Regions from separate parts of the Homo sapiens genome. Here region 1 is linked to region 2. Evidence: promoter capture Hi-C in 16 types of primary human blood cells and fetal thymus (Javierre and others, 2016). All regions are on one chromosome and are shown on one strand. The core of a region is centred on a gene start or on the middle of the fragment in contact, and the rest is flanking DNA. Distances in the headings are between cores, read along the strand shown.

Region 1 (3,425 bases), core at 645-3,144, 1.1 Mb before region 2:
TTTCTGTTTGTTCTCTTTATTTCCCTATTGATTCACATACTGGGTAAATGTCATCTGCAAATATCTCTTTCTGACTTGCCTTTTGTTTCTGGACTTTGTATTATACTGGAAGCCTTACAGAATTCAAAATTTTTATATAGTCACATTTAGAAATATTTTCCATATGGTCTCTGGTTTTTCTCATTCAATACTTTTATAATTAAATTCCTTCCCTTCCCTTCCTTCCTTCCTTCCTTTTTTTGCTTATTTACTGTGGCATCTTCAGATCATTTGGAATTTATTTTGATGTAAAGTGTGATGTTGGGACTTGATTTGAATTTTTTCCAAATGGTTATCAAGTTGTCCCAATTATTACTTGAATTAGGCACATGTTCCCCACTAATATTTGAAATACCACATCTACCATAGATCATATTAAACTCTAAAAGGAATGTAATAACTCCTATGAAGAGAGCTAATATGACAAATTAAAAGCATCTTCTAGAGATATCTACTTGTTGGTGAGCAGCCGATGACATAACATGGTACTGTTAGTGAACAGATAAGCCCCCTAAAAATAGCAATAAACCCAAGGGCTTTACCTCTGTTGAAAAGATGCTAGATTTCCAACAAGCTCCCAGGTGGTACCAATGCTTCTGGTCTAAATATCATACTTCACTCAGCAAGGTGCTGGACATCTTCCCTTTGCCTTACTGACACTCTCTCCACTCTGTTTTGTGCCCCGGGAGGCTGACTGTGCAGACTGTATCACTCAATCTTCTCAACAACCCTGTTCAGGTGGTGCTATCATTAGATCACCATTTAATAGATGAGCAAATTGAGCCGAGATAAGTAAAGCAACTTGCCTGAGGTCACACTGCAATTCGTGATGGGGCTGGGTTGAGCTCAGGCAAGTGGGCTCCAAGGTTGTGTTCCGACCTCCTAAGCTAAGCTGCCTTTGCATCTCATTGCAGCCTGCCCAACAGTGAGTGGTGTGGTGGGAAATCCTGGACTGTGAGTCAGGAGACCCAGATACAAATCCTCCCTCTACCGCTTGCATGTTGTGTAACCTTGGGCAAGTTGCTTCACTTCTTGAGCCTACATATTCTCATCTGTCAACCTTGCAAGGTTGTCATAGGGTGAAATGAGAAAGTACATGAAAAAGAAAGTCCAGCAGTTTACAGCACACAGTGTGTGCTCAGTAAACAATAGCTTTTATCTGTTACCTGGGGCTTAAGTCCATGTCTTGTAAGGCCTAATTGCATTTCTCTTTTCTCTGTATCTGAACCTCTATTGAGAAGCATTCCAATTTGGCAAGCGGATCCAAGACATTATGAATTGTAATCCTTGTCTGTTTTCTAATCTGACCGCAGATCTTAAATGTGTTGGGTGTCTGAACAGAGGCCAAAGGGCTCAGGTCCAGACCTACCTAACACAACCGCCTTCTGGCATTAACCAGCAGCCTCCATTCTGCGTGGGAAGCAGGCGGGGCCCTGAGCACTGTGGGAAGAGCCACTTCCCTCTAGTCTAATATTAGCAGCAGGTTGTCCTGAGTGGGAGCTGCTTTGCATGGTTCATCCCAAAACCCACCCCCCTCCTGCAACCTGAGGGAGATTTCCTCTGGGGATACCAGTAGCCAAAGGCTGTATGAAGACAACAGCAAGTCAGATTCTACCTCTACCTGAGCCGCCAAGTTCAAGGTCCTCTCCCCACCCTGTGTCTCAGACCCCGCATTTATCAATGAGATAATTGGACCAGATTTGTGCTTTTTAAACTTTCTGGGCTTCTGGTCTCCTTGAGAATATTTGATAAAAAGCTTTGGACCAACTTCCCATGGTAAAACAAACAACAACAAATAGAGCTTACACTCTATCCTTCTACAGGGGATACAGAATGATTCTTTTCCCTGAGCTAGACACCAGCAGAGGGAGTTCCAGATTAATTTAAGATATGATTTGAAATCTCTGCTATCACTTTTACATTCAGATATCTGTGTAGACATTACTTCATCAGAGAAGCTTTCCAAAACCCCCAAACTAGATCAAGTTCTACTATTCTAAGCCCTTTTAGCGCCCTGTAATTCTTCTTCAAAATACTTAACACAATTCTAATTATCTTTTTAATATTTGTCTACTCCATTAGACTTACTTCGTCCCTGGCAGCTCAAGGCTCCCACAGCAGTGATCTCATGAACAGGGCGGCAGCTTCATGGCCTTTTTTGGTTGTTGTTTAATAGAAACAGGATCTCGCTTTGTCATCCAGGCTGCAGCGCAGTGGCGCATAGTTCACGGTAACCTCCAATTCCTGGGCTCACACAATCCTCCTGCTTCAGCATCCTGAGTAGCTGGCACTATAGGCACGTGCCACCATGCATGGCTAATTCTGAAATTTTTCTGTAGAGATGGGAGTCTTGCTATGTTGACCAGTCTCGTTTTAAGCTCCTGGCTTCAAGTGATCCTCCTATCTCGGCCTGGGATTACAGGTGTGAACTATCATGTACAGCCTTCATGGCCTTTTGCTCCTAGCCTCAGAGGTCACAGAGCTATCACGAGGCGAGCCAGGCGAGGGTTTGCTATTCAAGGACTCCAAAGAGTATGGCAGAGGCTGGGCCTGCAGAAGTCAGTGGGGCAGCGTGGTGTCTGTTGATCTCATCGCACCTCCATCTCCTCATCTGTAAAAGGGAGCTCGTAATCCTAGTTGATGGTTGTTTTATTGGACTGTGTAAAGATCAGATGAGATAATGGCAGTAGAATTCATAACACCCTGCAGGGTGTATTCAGCCAACACTTAGCGCCTACAATATGCCAGGCGCTAAGGGTTTTACCACCACTATCTCTTTAATAATGCACCATAGCCCAAGAAGGAAGATGCAAGTCTCAGCCAGCCCACTTGAAGACCCTGCCGAAATGAGCCACCCCGGGGGCTGCGCTTGGGCTGGCGCGGGGCTGGACGGAAAGGGGGCGGCGCGCAGGTGGGGCGGGCCGGGGGCGGGGCGGCACGGCGGTTCCGGGATCCGGGTCCTGGCCTCCACCGCCGCCTTGGGGCGCGCAGATCGCTGGCTGCAGTTGGCGGGCGCATGTGGGGGCGCACGGCGCGGCGGCGCTGCCCGCGGGAACTGCGGCGCGGCCGGGAGGCGCTGTTGGTGCTCCTGGCGCTACTGGCGTTGGCCGGGCTGGGCTCGGTGCTGCGGGCGCAGCGTGGGGCCGGGGCCGGGGCTGCCGAGCCGGGACCCCCGCGCACCCCGCGCCCCGGGCGGCGCGAGCCGGTCATGCCGCGGCCGCCGGTGCCGGCGAACGCGCTGGGCGCGCGGGGCGAGGCGGTGCGGCTGCAGCTGCAGGGCGAGGAGCTGCGGCTGCAGGAGGAGAGCGTGCGGCTGCACCAGATTAACATCTACCTCAGCGACCGCATCTCACTGCACCGCCGCCTGCCCGAGCGCTGGAACCCGC
Region 2 (3,486 bases), core at 11-2,510:
ACTTACAGCAAACATACATATAACAACTTAGAAGTCCAGGTCCAAATTTAGAATCTTTGAGTACCACACCTCCTGATTTTGTACCTGAGGAAGCTTTTTCAGAACTTAACACAAATGATCTTTTATTTCAAAAGATCTTATTTCACTGATCCTTGCATAAAAAACATTTTCTCACAGTATTGCCTAATACTTTAATTTTTCTCCTTAGAATCAAAATTTGATAAATACATTCTGGAGCTCATTGTAAAACAAATATCAGTATACATTATGTCCCCAAAGAAAATCCAAATTGCTTGGTAGATTTGGTGCTTTGTTTTAGAAATTGTCTTTCAAGGCTTTTTAAAGGATCTACAGGCCCCTAATCTTCCCTGTTTACCTCCTACTCTACTGGAAGACCCTAAGAACTCAGTTTCCTTAACTGTGGTTTGAACATCCTGATCACTTCTGAGACAATGCCATTAGTGAATACATTCTAAGCACGTCATCTGAATATTCACAGACATCTTTTTAAAAGGGCTGGATCTGGAAGTTAGGCCATGAAGAGAGGAGGACCTGTGACTTGGACAAGGCTTCAAAGCCGGCCACCTGCTTGTTCATGTGGTTGCAGCTGGTCTAACTGGAATAACTTGGGAAGGAAATTAGGACACCCAGTTGGAGTTCCAGCTCTGCCATAAGCTGGCTGAACTGGAGTGAGTCACTTAAAACTCTTTGTTAAACCCCAGAGTCATAATCTATAAAATCGGGATAAAGACGTTTGCCTTAAGCCCTCCACCAGTTTTTGGAGGAAACCACAATTTGCTGAGCTTTAATTTTTACACCTGTTGCAATTAAGATGGCACTCCTGCCCTGTCCACTTCACAGGGCTTTTGGGGACGGGATGGGGAGGCACCACCTTTCTGAGCTTCAGTTTCAAAACAGAGCTAAGAATACATGCCCAACCCGCAAATAAAATTCTAGGAAGAACAGAGGAAAACGGACAGGAAAACTGCGAAATGCAGTCGGCCATACAAGCATGAATTGTCTTAAACACAACAAGCAGACCTAAAGAGCGTTTGTGCGTCTCTCTCCTCTTGGCTCGAGTCACAACCCCATAACGTAAATCAATATCACTTTTGAAAAAGGCTTTCGCTGTTCTCAGCAGCGTCCGCATTTGTACTCACCTGTGCGCCCCCAGCGCCCGGCCTGGGGGCCCTGCGGGGCGGGGGCGGGGGCGGGGGCGGGGCCCAACCCTGCCCACCCCTCGTGATGCCCCGCCCCGTCGCTCCTGCGCCTGCGCCGTGCCCACCGACCGGCCTCGAGCGCCCCGGCGGGAGGTAAGGGGCTCTCTGGAGGCCGCCTTTGGGGGCGTCGGGCCCTCACAGGCTTGGTGGGCCTGGCGCCCGTGTGGCGCGCGCAAGAGGCGCTGGGCGGCAAGTAGGGCATTGGATCCGAAGTGCGAGCGCCATGGTGGCTCCTCCTGTTTTTCAGAAGTGGCGGAGCCTCGCTTGGTTTCGTTTTTGGAAGCTTTATTGGAAGCTGGTATAGGGAGGCCGCAGACGATGCGAGCAGGACGGCCTCCCGGGGTCGCGGGGTGGAAAAGTTTCCGGCGCGCGTCCTGTCTCTGGCGCGCTGTAGGCCCCGGGTCGCCAGGGTCGCTGGCGTCTGGGTCCCGGGACAGACCCGCGCATCCGTTCGCTGGTGGGGGCGTTTGGTGTGTGTGGCCCAGGTGTGCTGTGGGTGACACTGCGAGGAATGACGCGACGCTCGATGGTAGTGAGGCTCGGAGGACTGGGAGCGAGAGGCCGGAAGCCCCTGCTCGCCAAACCCAGAGGTGGTTGGCAGAAGGTCCCACACCTTGGCTCCCTCCTTTTAGCTAACCGAGGTTCAGAGAGGAGACTTTACTTTGACTTTTCTCTCCAAATTCGGTATCTCTTCCATAAGTCAGAAACATTAAGCGGCGGGCCGGAAGAAATCGGGCGCCACTAGTATCCTGAAAAGTGGGAGCTCTGGGCCGATGGAAGGTGTTCGTCACTTTTGGGGGCTGGGTTTCCTGAGAAATGGGGTCTTTCACTTATTAATAACCTCCTAAGTAACTTACTGGGAAACATGAGTATTATGGTACCCATCTCATATTAGTTGTAAGCACTACATGATAAAGTTTGTAAAGCACCTGGCACAGTCCTGGCACCCCTCTCTCCAAGTATTAATGCAGTGAATACGATGGCAGTTCTTTGACTTCTAAATGTTTTTACCTGTCTTACGTGAAACATCCTCTTATACTAAAAAACTTTTTTATTTTGAAATAATTTTAAAATTACAGAAAAGTTTCAAAAGTAATACAGAGTTCCCTATTGCCTCCATTAATAATTTTTTACATACCATAGCGCAATTATCAAAAGCAAGAAGTTAATATTAGTATAATACTATTAACTGAATTACTAACTTGTGATTTTTTTTCCTGTATTAATGTCCTTTTTCTATTCTAGGATCCACTCTAAGACCCGACATTGCAGTTAGTTGTCTTGGGTCCTTGGTCTCCTCCAGTCTGTGACAGTTCCTCTGTCTTTTCCTGTCTTTACACTGATAGTCTTTTTCTGTCTTTATACTCTTTCTGATCTTTACACTTTTGAAGAATGCTGGTCAGTTATTTTGTAGAGTGCCCCTCAAATGGGGTTTGTCCAGTGTTCTCTCATGATTAGATTAAGGTTATACATTTTTGTTAAGAACACAAAAGTGTGTGTGCCCTTCTCAGTTCATCATATGAGCATAGCTGATATATATGACTTATTGCTCGTGAGGTTAATCTTGATCACTTGGTAGAGAGTGTCTGCTGGGATTCTCCAATGTAAAGGTCTTATTTTTCTCCTTATAATTGACATCTTGGGGGGGAGCTTTTAAACCGTACGCATATCCTGTTTCTCCTCAGACTTTCCCTTGCTAAATTTCACATCCATTGGTGGATCTTGCCTTCAGCAATTATTATGACTATGGTGTTCTAATGATGATTTTCTACTTTCCTCATTTCTTTATTAATTGAAATTATTCTGTAAGGATGAGCTGCCCATTTCCCATTTGTTTATTTGTATTCCGTTATTTATTTGTATCCATGTGGACTTAGATGTTTTTCTATTGGTTGTTATCCTACACTTGTGTTATTTTATGTTTGAAATTGTTCCAGCTTTGATCATTGGGAGTTTTCTTTCAGGTTGCTTTCTGTAGCTTTTCAGCATGCTTCCATCCTTTTTTTTCTTTTTTGGAACTTCCTAATTTTCTGGTACCATAGGATGCCCCAGGCTCATCTTGTGTTTTCTGTGCCTCAGCCCTGATAGTCAGCCACTTCTCCAACGACCCGTAGTTTCTTTTTTTGGAGAATAGTATTTAAACACAAAGATCTGTGCTCTAGGGATGCTCATTGCTACTGGGGTAACATTGCTTCCAGGGCCCCACAGAAGACACCAGTCTATACATATGCATACCCATGCATACACAAAGATCTATGTTTATTTC

The links. The method cuts DNA at HindIII sites, captures the fragments that hold promoters and counts their contacts. A CHiCAGO score of 5 or more calls a contact.
Region 1: a contact is called between a fragment that was not itself captured here and the fragment with the promoter of STX17 in region 2, in 1 of 17 cell types (non-activated CD4 T cells). The highest score is 5.1, in non-activated CD4 T cells.

Annotation. Positions count from the first base shown.
Region 1 is chr9:98,804,644-98,808,068 of GRCh38, forward strand. It overlaps GALNT12 (polypeptide N-acetylgalactosaminyltransferase 12), which reads left to right and starts at 3,027. Exons shown (of 10, transcript NM_024642.5): 1 at 3,027-3,425. The coding sequence starts at 3,056. LOC124902229 (a long non-coding RNA gene) reads right to left here and starts at 2,937. Exons shown (of 2, transcript XR_007061689.1): 1 at 2,128-2,937. RefSeq lists silencers at 2,909-2,998, 3,099-3,168. The HindIII fragment of the contact is 202 bases long and covers 1,794-1,995 here.
Region 2 is chr9:99,905,394-99,908,879 of GRCh38, forward strand. STX17 (syntaxin 17) reads left to right here and starts at 1,261. Exons shown (of 8, transcript NM_017919.3): 1 at 1,261-1,313. STX17-DT (STX17 divergent transcript) reads right to left here and starts at 1,208. Exons shown (of 3, transcript NR_038853.1): 1 at 1,161-1,208. RefSeq lists a silencer at 1,000-1,399 and an enhancer at 1,560-1,799. The HindIII fragment of the contact is 1,410 bases long and covers 92-1,501 here.